Linked DNA regions of Homo sapiens: region 2 is linked to region 1. The links are contacts of gene promoters, found by promoter capture Hi-C in blood cells and fetal thymus (Javierre and others, 2016). All regions are on one chromosome and are shown on one strand. Each heading gives the region's core, a stretch centred on a gene start or on the middle of the fragment in contact. The rest is flanking DNA. Distances are from core to core; before and after follow the strand shown.

What was found. The method cuts DNA at HindIII sites, captures the fragments that hold promoters and counts their contacts. A CHiCAGO score of 5 or more calls a contact.
Region 2: the fragment with the promoter of CTNNBL1 here is called in contact with the fragment with the promoter of ACTR5 in region 1 in 1 of 17 cell types (neutrophils); the score reaches 5.6 in neutrophils.

What each region holds. Positions count from the first base shown.
Region 1 is chr20:38,742,786-38,750,088 of GRCh38, forward strand. ACTR5 (actin related protein 5) reads left to right here and starts at 5,675. Exons shown (of 9, transcript NM_024855.4): 1 at 5,675-6,068; 2 at 7,225-7,303. The coding sequence starts at 5,694. RefSeq lists silencers at 5,151-5,420, 5,721-5,910 and an enhancer at 5,271-5,772. The HindIII fragment of the contact is 9,906 bases long and covers 864-7,303 here.
Region 2 is chr20:37,689,473-37,696,941 of GRCh38, forward strand. CTNNBL1 (catenin beta like 1) reads left to right here and starts at 4,558. Exons shown (of 16, transcript NM_030877.5): 1 at 4,558-4,680. The coding sequence starts at 4,651. It overlaps LOC105372609 (a long non-coding RNA gene), which reads right to left and starts at 1,804. Exons shown (of 4, transcript XR_936703.1): 1 at 1,711-1,804; 2 at 1,391-1,478. RefSeq lists an enhancer at 4,836-4,895. The HindIII fragment of the contact is 18,373 bases long and covers 1-7,469 here.

The DNA.
Region 1 (7,303 bases), core at 4,425-6,924:
GGCCATAACTTAAACCAAATAGAAGGTGTATTTAATGTGGGTTCTGATTCACTACATCCGTGAATGTGCCCTCATTTAGAAATATAGTTGTTGCAGGTACATAGTACAGATATAATCAGTGAAGCTCATACTGAAGTAGGGTGGGGCCCTAATCCAATAAGACTGGTGCTCTTAGAAGAAGAGGAAAAGTGGGCTGGGCGTGGTGGCTCACACCTGTAATCCCAAAACTGTAGGAGGTCGAGGCAGGTGGATCACAAGGTCAGGAGTTCGAGACCCGCCTGGCCAATATGGTGAAACCCTGTCTCTACTAAAAATGCAAAAAATTAGCTGGGCGTGGTGGCGCATGATTGTAATCCCAGCTACTTGGGAGGCAGAGGTTGCAGTGAGCCAAGATGGCACCACTGCACTCCAGCCTGGGCAACAGAGCGAGACTCTATCTCAAAAAAAAAAAAAAATTAAAAAATAAAAAGAAGAGGAAAAGAGACAGATACACTCAAGGGGAGCACCACATGATGACGGCAGCAGAGACTGGAGAGGCCAAGCAATGCTGAGGATTGCAGGTGTGTTCGTCACTGAGGATTGCAGGTGTGTTCGTCAGGATTCCCCAGAGAAAGAGAACTAATATTATATATGTATACATACTTACACACACTACATGGAATTGGGTTACTCAGTTACAGAGGTAAGCAAGTTCTAAGATCTTCAGGGTGAGTTGGAAAGCTGGAGGCCCAGGAGAGCCAATGGTTTAGTTCTAGTCTGAGTCTGTATTAGTCCGTTCTCGCCCTGCTATAAAGAAGTTCCTGAGACTGTGTAACTTCCAAAGAAAAGAGATTTAATTGGCTCATGGTTCTGCGGGTTATACAAGCTTCACTTCTGGGGAGGCCTCAGGAAACTTAACAATCATGGTGGAAGGCAAAGGGGAAGCAAGTACTATCTTCACATGGTGGAGCAGGAGAGAGCAAGCGAAGGGAGAAACAACCAGATCTTGTGAGAACTCTACCACAAGACCAGCCAGGTCCATGGTGCTAAACCATTAGAACCACCCTATGATCCAATCACCTCCCAGCAGGCCCCACCTCCAACGCTGGGAATTATAATTCAACACGAGATCTCCGTGGTGACACAGAGCCAAACCATATCAGAGTCCAAGTCCGAAGGCCTGAGAACTGGCCTTAGTAGTGTAGTTCCAGTCTGAAGGTCAGCAGTCTTGAGACCAAGGAAGAGTCTATGTTTCAGTTCAAGTCTAAAGGCAGGAAAGGCTGGGCGGCGGCTCATGCCTGTAATTCCAGCACTTTGGGAGGCCAAGGCGGGTGGATCACCTGAGGTCGGGAGTTCAAGACTAGTCTGACCAACATGGAGAAACCCTGTCTCTACTAAAAATGCAAAATTAGCAGGGCATGGTGGCACATGCCTGTAATCCCAGCTACTCAGGAGGGTGAGGCAGGAGAATTGCTTGAACCTGGGAGGTAGAGGTTTCGGTGAGCCGAGATCGTGTCATTGCACTTCAGCCTGGGCAACAAGAGTGAAGCTCTGTCTCAAAAAAAAAAAAAAAAAAAAAAAGGAAAAAAGCTGATGTCCCAGTCCAAAGCCATTCAGGCAGGGAGAGTCAGCCTCTTTGTTCTATTGAACTGATTGGATGAGGCCCACTCACATTAGGAAGGGAAATCTGCTTTACTCAGTCTACTGATTGAAATGTTCATCTCATCCTAAAGCACTCCATAGAAAACACCCAGAAAAATGTTTGACCAAATATCTGGGCAGCCAGAAAGGCTGACATAAAACCAACCATCATAGCTGACAGCACCAGGAAGCTAAGAGAAAGCTGTGGAACAAATACTACCCTGGAGCCTTCAAGAAGAGCATGGCCATGCCGACACCTTAATTTTAGCCTTCTGCCTCCAGAAGTGTAAGAAAATAAATTTCTCTTGTTTCAAGTCATCCTACTTTGTGGTACTATGTTACAGCAGCTAGGAAAATAATACAGTAGGCTTCTAAAGCATTTTTTTTGAGACAGAGTCTTGCTCTGTTGCCCAGGCTGGAGTGCAGTGGCACAATCTCAGCTCACTGCAACCTCCACCTTCCAGGTTCAAGTGATTCTTGTGCCTCAGCCTCCTGAGTAGCTGCGACTAAAGGTGTGCACCACCATGCCCAGCTAATTTTTTGTATTTTTAGTAAAGACAGGCTTTCTCCATGTTGGCCAGGCTGGTCTCGAACTCCTGACCTCAAGTGATCTGCCCCACGGCCTCCTAAAGTGCTGGGATTACAGGCGTGAACCGCTGCACCCAGCCTAATGTATTTTTTTCTAGTCATTTCCATGGGTAAATCTTTACAGCCCTAGATTTTGTCTAGTGCTACAGTGTGCAATAGAGTAGCCACTAGCTACATGACTATTTAAATTTAAACTAAAATTAAGGCTGGGTGCAATGGCTCACACCTGTAATCCCAGCATTTTAGGAGGCCGAGGTGGGCAGATCACTTGAGGTGAGGAATTCACAACCAGCCTGGCCAACATGGTGCAACCCTGTCTCTAATGAAAATACAAAAATTACCGGGGTGTGGTGGTGCATGCCTGTAATCCCAGCTACTCGGGAGGCTGAGGCAGGAGAATCGCTTGAACCTGGGAGGCAGAGGTTACAGTGAGCCGAGATTGTGCCACTTCACTCCAGCCTGGGTGACAAGAGCGAAACTCCATCAAAAAAAAAAAAAAAAGAAAGAAAGAAAGAAAAATTAAAATTAAGAACATTTTAAAAATTCAGTTCTTCAGTTACACTATTCACATTTCAAGTGCTCTGCGGCCACATGTGGTTACTGGCCACTGTGTTAGACACAACAGATACTAGATCATCTCCATCAATTTGCACATTTCCAATGTACAAAGTTCTGTTGGACAGCATTGGTCTAGTGTATTAGTCGGTTTTCTCCTGCAATAATACTGCATAGCAACTCCAGAATTTCAGTGGTTTATAAGAATAAACATTTTTCTTGTTCAGAGGTCCATGGGGCAGCTCAACTTTAGGTTGCAGGTTGGCTGGACTTGGCTTCGGACTGCAGTTTAGGTTCAGATCTGCTCCATGTATCTCTTATCCTCTTTGGACTCAGGTATGTTCCTCTCATGACTAAAAGCAGGAGTGCAAGAAGGCAATCTAAACCAATCATATTCAGTTAACAGTCCATTGGCTAAAGCAAGTCACATGACCAAGCCTAATATCAGTGTCCTCAAGGAGAGGCTCTACAAAGTTACAAGGCAAATGGTATGGATGTATCATCCTACTATAAAGGAGTGAAGAAAAAAAAAGTAAAGGAATGAAGAACTGGGAATAATAATCCAATCTACCTCATGTGCCAAACGCTTATAAAGACCAGCCTGGGCAACATGGCAAAACTCTGTCTCTATGTGGTGGTGTGCACTTGTAGTCCCAACTACTAGTGAGGTTGAGGCTGGTCTTGAACTTCTGGGCTAAAGCAGTCCTCCCACCTCAGCCTCCCAAAGTGCTGGGATTACAGGCATGAGCCACCACACTGGCCATCCCCGTTGGAGTTGCCTCTCATATATATATAAAATAATAATATATATAATATATATATTTACCTTGGTGCTTTTCTTTTTTTCTTTTTTGTGAGACAAAGTTTCACTCTTGTTGCTCAGGCTGGAGTGCACTGGCGTGATCTCGGCTCACTGCAACCTCCGCCTCCAGGGTTCAAGCGATTCTCTTGCCTCAGCCTCCCAAGTAGCTGGGATTACAGACACCTGCCACCATGCCCAGCTAATTTTTGTATTTTTACTAGAGACGGGGTTTCACCATGTTGGCCAGGCTGGTCTCGAACTCCCGACCTCAGGCGATCCACCAGCCTCGGCCTCCCAAAGTGCTGGGATTACAGGTGTGAGCCACTGCGCCCAGCCAGTGCTTTTTCATATTAATATACATAGACACAATTCTTAAATTAACATTCACTAACTTACATTTACTGGTTTCTGTGTTCTGCTGGTCCCCCTCTTAATTAACTTAACGATGGTTACTTCAGATATCTGAACAATGGACGTGTGTTGAAAGACAACACAACCTGATTTTTGCCACTGGGCTGGCTCCCAATCTGGTTTAGGTGTGTTAACAGGCTGGGCCCGTCGTCTCAAGCCTGTAATCCCAGCACTTTGGGAGGCCGAGGCAGGCGGATCACTTGAGCCAAGGAGTTCGAGACCAGCCTGGCCAACGTGGCGAAATCCCGTCTGTATTAAAAATAAAAAAAATTAGCTGGGTGTTGTGGAGCATGCCTGTAATCCCAGCTACTCGGGAGGCTGAGGCAGGTGAATTGCTTGAACCGGGGATGTGGAGGTTGCAGTGAGCCAAGATCACACCACTGCACTCCAGCCTGGGTGACAGAGCCAGACTCCGTCTTAAAAAAAACAAACAACAACAACAACAAACACTGTTAATAGAGGTTCTTGAGATAAGTTAGGAGTTTCATTTCTCGCTTACAATATCTTTTGTAACTAATTTGATTTTATCTCTCAAACTGAAGTGTTATAGACCTGGTAGAGTAGATTCAAGGCAGCTGCTCTATTCTTTTTCTTCTTTCAAAATGGTTATGGCCAGCATGGGCAACATAGTGAAATCCCTTCTCTACTAAAAATATAAAAATTAGCTGGGCGTGGTGGTGCACGCCTGTAATCTCAGCTACTTAGGAGGCTGAGGCGGGAGAATCACTTGAGTCCAGGAAGTCGAGGCTGCAGTGAGCCGAGATCGCCCCACTGCACAAAAAAAGGTTGTAGTAAAACAACTGCTCTAATTCTTACCCCCTTAGCTAGTGAAAAGATGGAAATGCGACAGGATAGAGCGCGACGAGTGCTTTTAGGGCTAAAACTGAGTGGGTCACACACATGGCCTCCTCTCCCACCCGCTCCTGGCCAGAATTTAGTCACATGAGCGCATCTAGATCGCAGCCAGACGGATGGCCACGTGGGAGTGGGAGGTGATGCCACTAAAAGAGAGGGAATGCTTGGGGAACAATCAGCAGTCTTTTCTCAGGGTTTGAGAAAACACTGTGTCTTAGTGAGAAGACACAGTCTGTGCGAGTTAGTAAAGTGAACAGAACTGAGTAGTCAGCTCCCTAGTCAAGAAATTGAACAGTCGGCAGAGTTTGAGATTTCTTAACGTAAAGGAAGCGTCAAAAGATAAAGGACCCTTCTAGCCAGGACGCAAGACTGAGGGCGAGACAGCCACGCGGAGGCGGGGCCGCCGGCGGTCGAAGGTGCGCGCCCGGCCGACGGTGCGCGCCCGGCCGACGGTGCGCGCCCGGCAATGGGGCGTGGCCAGGCAGAGAGGCGGGGCTCCACCGAGCGCGGCGCTGAAGCTGGCAGCCAGAAAGGGGCGGGGCCTGGCGGCGATAGGCTTTGGGGCGGGGCTTCCAAACCGGGCGTCCCGGCTAGAGTGAAGGGGCGTGGGCACTCATAGGCTATTGGGGGAGAGGTTAAGAAACGTAGAATTTCGCAGCCAGAATGGGTACGTCTCAGCGATCCTGAAAGCAGCCTTGACAGCCAGAGGCGAGTCAAGTGGAAAGGCTGGCCGGGCTTCGAGAAGGGAGGGGGCATCGAGGTACTTAAAGGCCTGAATCGCGCGGCGTGACGTCGGGGGCGCGGTTTCGCGGCGTCTGGGCGGACACTGCGCCGAGGGGCGGGGCTGGACGCGCGCTCCAAGATGGCGGCGAACGTGTTCCCGTTCCGCGACGCCCGTGCCGCACCGGACCCAGTGCTGGAGGCCGGCCCGGTGGCACACGGGCCACTGCCGGTACCGCTGGTGCTGGACAACGGGTCGTTCCAAGTCCGCGCTGGCTGGGCGTGTCCCGGGCAGGACCCAGGTCCCGAGCCGCGCCTGCAGTTCCGCGCGGTGTGCGCCCGCGGTCGTGGCGGGGCACGGGGCGCGTCGGGCCCGCAGGTGGGGAACGCTCTGGGCAGCCTGGAGCCACTGCGCTGGATGCTGCGCTCGCCCTTCGACCGCAACGTGCCGGTCAACCTGGAGCTTCAGGAGTTGCTGCTGGACTACAGCTTCCAGCACCTGGGTGTCTCCTCACAGGTGAAGGGCGGAGTAGGCTGGGCTGGGCTGGGTTTGAGGGGAGGGGTGCGGTCTCGTCTCCGCTCACTCTGCTCTCGGAGAGGTAACAGTCACTTCAGTAGCTCCGATTGTCTTTTAGTCGACCAGATGCTAGGCGCTGTGGGTGTAGCAGCGAATAAAATGCTGCTCCTTGTATCTTGGAGCATACCTTTGGGCATATATGCTTGTTTGTTAAGAAGCCCATTTATTAACAAATACGTATTGAGCACTTACTCTGTGTCAGGCACTTTTTAGGCATTTGGAGTACATGTGTGAACACAAAACTTCCTGTGCTTATGGAGCTGTTAATACTATGGAAAGATATTCTAGTATGAAAAGGCAGACAGTAAACATAGAAATAGTAGATTCTACGCCGTGATAGGAGAGGAGGGAGTTACATTTTTTCAGTAAGATGGTCAGGGTAGGACTCGTGAAGGTGATGTTTGAGCAAGGACTTGAAGGAGGTGATTCAGGTAGCAAGCCATGTGAATATCTGAAGGAAAAACGGTCCAGGCAGAGGGAGCAGCCAGTAAAAAGGCCCCGAGGCAGGAGTGTGCCCTAATCCTAACTGCAAGGCTGCCTGTGTGAGGGGGAGAGTAGTACCTGAAAGAGGATGTCAGAGAGGTAGTGGAGAGGCAGATCACACACCTTATAGGCTTTTACTGAGTGAAATGGGGAGCCATGGCAGGGTGTTGAGCTGAAGAAGGACCTGACTTGTGTTTTAAAAGGATCACTATTACTGCTGTATGGAGAATGAATTGTCTTGGATCATAGGGTGGAAACAGGGACGAGTTAGGAGGCTGTTGGAATAACCCAGGTAAGGGATGATGGTGGCTTAGATGAGGCAGATAGCAGGGAATGTCATTAGAAGCAGTTGGATTCTGGAAATACTTTGAAGATAGAGCCAACACGATTTGCTGACAGTTTGGATGGGACCTTGACTTAATAACTTAAATTGACTCTACTTTCGTATTTTCAAGTAAAGATGAGATGGGAGTTTTATAATCGCCTCTGATCAGGTTTTTGATTAAGAAGCCAAAAGCAAATTCAGTCCTGCAATAAGGATTTTGGGTTCTTTTATGCTTCAAAAAGAGTATTCTGTTACCACTCATTTATTTGCCCTTTTCTTTCAAAGTAGGGCTGTGTTGATCATCCCATAGTTTTGACAGAAGCTGTGTGCAACCCACTGTATTCACGGCAAATGATGTCTGAGCTTC
Region 2 (7,469 bases), core at 3,308-5,807, 1.1 Mb before region 1:
TTCATTTATTAAATCAACAACTATTTAGTGAGTAACAATTAAGTGCCAGGTACTGTGTTAGGTTCTGAGTTTACTGTGGTAAATGATACAGCAATCTTTGCTCTTCTGGAGCTTAGAATCTGGAAGGGAAAGCAGTCCACAAATGGGTAAAAAGCAAACAAATATAAAAACAAAAACAATAAGTGTTCTGAAGATAATAATGGTCAGGAATGCTGATAGAGAATCTTGAAGGGGAGGAACTGTCTTAAATCTTGTGGTCAGGAAAGATTCCTCTGATGTGTGCAATTAAGCTGAGACCTGAAGGGTGAGCGCCCCAAGTCTCATTCCTGGGGGTTCCCAAAGAATTATTAATGGACCCTCTCATCAAGATAAAATGAAAATATCTTAATCTGGCATTCAAGTTTCTCCAAGATTAGGGTTGCCAGATAAAATAAATAATGCCCATTTAATTCTGAATTTCAGACAGAAAACATTTTTAGTATGTTATTAAATATTGCATGAGACAAATTTATAAAAAATTCATTATTTGTCTGAAATTCAGATTTAACTGGGTGTCCTGTATTTTTATTTGCTAAATCTGTTAACCCTCTTCGTGATCTTCTCCAGCCAGCCTCTCCACCTTTTCTTCCACACATTTGAAGCTCTGTCCACAAGGAAGGGTCCAATTGCCTTGTCTTTGCTCATGCTGTTCCCTCTGCCTGGGTCACCATTCTCCCACTGTATCTTCTTGGTAAACTCTTCTTTCCCTTTAAACCCCTGTCCAGATGTTACGTTCTCAGGGAAACCTCTAGCAGAGCACATTAGCCCCAGTTCAGGGTGCTCACCAAACCTGGTTCTTATAGGATTTTGCCTTATAATTCTGTGTTTTAGAACTGGTCTCTACAAAAACAGACAAGACTGATTGCCTAAAAAGGAAAGGTTATAAGGAATTCTCTCATTCTTCCTGCCCTCTCCCTTGCCCCTATCCCACTCAACTCCTTTTTCTTTCTTTTTTTTTTTTTTTTTTTTGAGAGACAAGGTCTTGCTCTGTCACCCAGGATGCAGTGGCACAATCCTGGCTCACTGCAACCTCTGCCTCCTGGGCTCAAGTGATTCTCCAGCCTCAGCCTCCTGAGTAGCCGAGACTACAGGCACGTGCCACCACATCTGGCTAAATTTTTTTTCTATTTTTTTGTAGAGACAGGGTCTCACTATGTTGCCCAGGCTGGTCTCGAACTCCTGGGCTCAAGGGATCCGCCTTGGTCTCCCAAAGCTCTGGGATTACAGACATGAGCCACCGTGCCCAGCTGCCAACTCCTTACAATATTAATATAAGACACACAGCACTTTTCTGTGCCAGGCACTGTGCCAAGTGCTTTGCATACAGCATTTCATGTAAACCCTCCATAACCTTATGAGGTAGATTTGGTTGAATCTCCACTTTGCAGGTGAGAAAATCAGGCATGTAGAGGTGAAGTTCATTGCCACTGTTTCCACATCTGTAAAATAAGACTCATATCAACATTTTCTCCATGAGGTTTTCACCCAAACTAGAATGTAGGTTTCCAGAAGGCAGGAGCTTTGTTTTATAAACTTCCATATCCTCAGAGCCCAGAATTGTGCCTAGCATTGAGTAGGCTCTCAGTAAATACTTGTTGAATGAATGAATGAATGAATGAGTCATGTTACAGATAAGGAAAGTGTAATTTAGGGACAGAGAAAGTAACTTACCCAAGGACCCATGGCTAGATATGGTGGAACTTCCACTAGAACCAGAATCAGGGTGTGTTGGGTAGATGTTTAACAACTGGCTCGGCTGGGTGCAGTGGCTCATGCCTGTAATCCCAGCACTTTGTGAGGCCAAGGCGGGGGGATTGCTTGAGCTCATGAGTTTGAGACCAGCCTGGGCAGCATGGTGAAACTCTATTTCTACAACAACAGCAACAACAACAACAACAACAAAATAAGCCAGGCATGGTGGCGCACGCCTGTAGTCCTAGCTATTTGGGAGGCTGAGGTGGGCTTCAGCCCGGGAGGGGGAGGTTGCAGTGAGCTGAGATCCCGCCACTGCACTCCAGCCTGGGTGATAGAGCCCGAGCTTGTCTCAAAAGCAAACAAAGAAACAAAAAAACCCTACAAGTAGCTCTCTGGAAAAACAACAACATTAACAACCCTGATTTGTAGCATTTGCTGATTTACATTGTACAAATACTCCTAGCATGGCTGATTTCAAGCTATCAACCTGGTGTCAATCAGCTTGCAAGTTTCCTACAAATTTAACCATGGGCTTTTGTAGACCTGTCTGTGCAAGCTGGCATCAACATACCATGAACTAGAACACAGGGGTCTGGGTCCAAAGGGTACACCCTCACCATTACTCTCTCCTGTCTTCCCAAACAAGGCACAGTCTATATTCTATTTTTTTTTTTTTTTTTTGAGACGTAGTCTTGCTCTGTCGCCAGGCTGGAGTGCAGTGGTGCCATCTTGGCTCACTACAATCTCCACCTCCCTGGTTCAAGCGATTCCCCTGCCTCAGCCTCCCAAGTAGCTGGGACTACAGGCACGTGCCACCACACCTGGCTAATTTTTTGTATTTTAGTAGAGATGGGTTTTCACCATGTGGGCCAGGAAGATCTCAATCTCCTGACCTCGTGATCTGCCCTCCTCGGCCTCCCAAAGTGCTGGGATTACAGGCGTGAGCTACCACACCCGGCCGGGCACAGTCCATATTCTTATATAAGTAGGAGGGGGAAAGACACCCAAATAGACTGAATTCAATGCAGATTGCATAGGTGATCCTTTAAAAACATAAGCCCAGTCACAAAACTACCTTGCTTAAAACTTTCCTTATGCCGTTAGCATAAAATCCAATCTCTCTCTCTTTTTTTTTTTTTTTTTTTTGAGACAGAGTCTTGCTCTGTCACCCAGGCTGGAGTGCAGTGGTGGAATCTCAGCTCACTACAGCCTCTGCCTCCTGGGTTCAAGCGATTCTCCTGCTTCAGCCTCCCAAGTAGAGGCATGTGCCACCATGCCCAGCTAATTTTTGTAATTTTTAGTAGAGACGAGGTTTCACCATGGTGGTCAGGCTGGTCTCAAACTCCTGACTTCAAGTGATCTGCCCGCCTTGGCCTCCTAAAGTGCTGAGCTTACAGGCGTGAGCCACCACGCCCGGCCACGCCTAGCCAAAATCTAATCTCTTTACCATGGCACACAAGGCCCATTATGAAACCTCTCCCTCTACCAGGCACTGTACTAGGCTTGGGGGATACAGTGGTGAACATGACACACACATGTCCTGCTTGCATAGAGCTTGCAATCCAGTAAATGAGGCTGTCAAGAAACAAATAGTCAACCATTAAGCACAAAATTACAGAATGAGATATATACGTAGTGGAGCAGGTACTTGGAAAAAGAATAATGAGGAGAGAGGTTGATTACCTGGACCAGGGTGAGTTGAAGAAGCCCTTGTAAGAAAGTGACATTTGAGACCCGAAAGATGAGAGAATTGGATGAGGTATGGTGCTGATGGCCAGGCAGAAGGGGAGAGGATTTGTCATTCTGAGGAATAAGAATAATTTCTGTATAATTGGAGCCAGTGCAGATGGGATGGGGACCAAAATTATAAATATGAAGGGCATATAAATATAATATAATACATAAATATAATTATAAATATAAAGGACAGGGGCTTATGGAAGGAGGTTTAATTTCCTTTGAAGATGGAGCCTTAAGTCCCAGGTGCATTCTGATCTTGTTTAAGATCAGATGCACTCTGAATGATTCTCTTCCAATTATGGGCAACTTTCTCCTCCAGAAACCTTTTTATATCACCTGGGTAGCAAGGGGATCATCTAGTGACCGTTAGACTTCGCATAGATGAGCAGACACAAGCCTAGAGAGGGACATGTGATCACCAATAGTTTCTCAGCCAGTAATAGTTGTACAGCCTTGGAACAAGTCACTTTTTGAGCCAGCACTATCTGATAGAAATTAATGGGAACCACAAATGAGAGCCACATGTGTAATTTAAAACTTTCTACTAACCACATTTAAGAAGTAAAGAGAAACAGGTAAAATTCATTTTATAATATATGAATTTGACCCAGTATATCCAAAATATCATTTCAACCTGTAATCAATGTAAGTCTTAGAAATCTGGTGTGTATTTTATTTACACTTATGGCACATCTCACTTCGGAGTAGCCATATCTCAAGCGCTCGGTAGCCATATGTGGCTAGTGAGTAAAGTATTGGATGGTGCAGTTGGGAGCGTCAGTTTCCTTTTCTGTGAAATGAGGATAAATCACTGGAAGCTCGTGAGAGCGCACACGAAACACCCGGCACTCCGCCCTGGACACTAGGGACGCGCAATCAAGTTTGGTTTCTTCTGGTCCCTGCTCTCCCCTCCCGCCCCTCCTCTAAGTCTCCGCCCCCTTTCCCCGCCCCCTCAGGCTCCAGGCGGAAGCAACCCTGTTCCAAATGCAGCGCGCTTTACGGCGGCGCGTCCTTTTACCGCGGTGTGGCCGGCTCGCTTGTCGCTCGCACTTTTGCCCTATTGGCTCTGCGGCTCCGCTCGCCGCACTTTACGGCAGTGTGGCTGGAGCCGCGGCTGACGGGCCCGCGGTCTGGGCGTGAGTGCAGGGAAGTGGAGTATTTGCTGGGCCGGGTACCATGGACGTGGGCGAACTTCTGAGCTACCAGGTATGAGGGGCAGGGAGGGCCGAGCGACCGCGTTCTCACCTGGGCAGGGGTCGCAGGAGCCAGAGCCCTTTCATCTCACCTCCTCTCGCCTCACTCCCGGGCCCTCTAACTTCTCATGCCACCCGGGGTCTCAGCCCCTCGTTTTACTTTGCTCTCCGAAGCCCTCCTGGGCCCTTTCGATTCATCCCTTCTCAAGACCTGAGCCCTTCACCTCCTCTTCCTCACCCTGGGGCCTGGTTCCCTGAAACTCCTCTGAAACCCCAGACTATCCTTTTTTTCACAACCATGTCCTCTCAGCTCTCATGTCCCCCCAGTCATTGAGGTGATGGTGGTGGCGGCGGTGGGAGTGCACTGGTCTCACTTGGATTTGATCTCCAGCTTCTCCACTGACTGGCTATGTGGCTTTTGGACAAGTCATTCCCCCCCTCTTTGAACCAAGTTTTTGTATCTATATAGTGGAGACACTAATAACTGCCTTAGTAGGGTTGTTTGAGGACTGTACCAACTGATATGTATGAAAGCTGGTTTTAAAGTGTGGAAAGCTGTGCTTGTGTTTACTGCGATTTGCAGGAGATGTTGGGAATTCTAGCATGGAATGAGTTTCTAGGAATCTTGCTCAGGGTCCCCCTTGCCTAGGAAACTTGTGGGGAAACTGTATGGGACCTAGAGAGCAGAAAGGGCTTGTCCAAAGTCACTCAGAAACAAGGAGCTGGAATTTGAGCTCAGGCGTACTGACTTCCACCCCAAAGTTTTTCCCCCACTTTGATTCCATAGGAGGGTCATTGCGAGGAGCAGTAGAGCTGCACTGCCGAATGTCGTAGCCACTAGCCACATAGGCTGTTGATTGCTTGAAATGTGACTAGTCTGAATTGAGAAATACTGTAAGTATAAAGACACATTTGGGTTGGAGACTAGTATGGAAAAAGTGAAATTTTTATATTGATTACATGATCGTACTGATTATATCAATTACATTGGTTATTGGTCATATTGATTAAATGATCATATTTTGGATAATGGGTGAAATAAAATATACTTAATTAATTTTTAAAATTTTATTTTATTGTTATTTAGAGACAGGATCTTGCTCTGTCGCCCATGCTGGAGTGCAGTGGCACAATCATTGCTCACAGTAGCCTTAAACTCCTAGGTCTAAGGTATCCTCCCAAGTAGCTAGGACTGCAGGCAGGCATCACTATGCTTGGCTGATTTTTAAATTTTTTGTAGAGACAGGGTCTTGCTATGTTGCCCAAGATGGTCTCAAACTCCTAGCCTCAAGCAGTCTTCCCACTTGGCCTCCCAAAGTGCTGGGATTACAGGTATGAGCCACCACACACCACACTCAGCCAATAAAATATGTTTAAAACCAATTTTAACTGCCCCTCTTGACATTTTAATGTGTTTACTAGAAAATTTAAAACAACATATATAGTTCAGCTTATATTTTTGTTAGACAGCCCTGCAGTCAAGAATAGGTGATTAAGAGCCATGAGTCTGGACCCCTAGGTTGCTGGCAGTCTCTGTTTTGCTACTAACTGGCTGCTGTAACCTTGAACAAAATACTTAATTTCTCTCTGCCTTGGTTTCTTCATCTGTAAATGGGGGACAGTGACGGTAGCTGCCTCACAGGGCTGTTGTGAAGCTGTTGAGAAATGGAAAGTCCTTAGACAATGCTTGCCAAAGAGTAAACATTCAGTAAATATTAGCAGTTATTTTCATACCACTCCCTCAGCCAAAGTACAAGAAATTGACCCTGGACGCTTAAGACATCATGGGAAAGAACAGTTCAGCAATGGGGAGCTATATAGCCAAGAGATTTTTCTTTTAAAGACAGTTTAATTGATAGTGAAAGATGAAGGGAAATAGGCAAGTTATTAAATCAGTGATTGTATGCCGGCTTGGAATTTCTAGAATGGCTAGCCCATTAAAGCTAGAAGAGTTTCATTCATTTGCTCAACAAATATATATTGAACACCTACTGTGTGCAAGGCAGTCTATCCACTGGGTATACAACACTGAATAAAAGACAAGATTCTTGCTTTTGTGGAGCATCTGGTGGGAAGTTACAAGATAATAAGTAAACAATGCATTCAGTTTGTGGTAAGTGCTGGGAAGGGAATATAGCAGAGTATGCTATAAAATTGCACTGCTTTGTATAGTAGCCACTAGGCACATGTGATTATTGAATACTTAAAATGTGACTAGTTTCGAATTTAGATCTGCTACATGTGCAAAATACACACTGGATTTCAAAGATTTAGTATGAAAATAATGTACAATATCTTTTTTTTTTTTTTTTTTTTTTTTTGAGATGGAGTTTCACTCTTGTTGCCCAGGCTGGAGTGCAATGGTGAGATCTCAGCTGACTGCAACCTCTGCCTCTTGGGTTCAAGCGATTCTCCTGCCTCAGCCTCCTGAGTAGCTGGGATTACGGGCATGCGCCACCACGCCTGGCTAATTTTTGTATTTTTAGTAGAGATGGGGTTTCTCCATGTTGGTCAGGCTGGTCTTGACTCCCAACCTCAGGTGATCTGCCAGCCTTGGCCTCCCAAAGTGCTGTGATTACAGGCGTGAGCCACTGCCCCTGGCCACGTGAAAATAATGTACAGTACCTTAACTTTTATGCTGATTACATGTTGAATAAATGATAACACTTACGATATATTGGATTAAAGAAAATATATTATTAAAATTAATGTTGCTTTTTAAAAAACTTTTAAAATGTGGCTACTAGAAAATGTAAAGTGGGCCGGGTGTGGTAGCTCATGCCTGTAATCCCAGCACTTTGG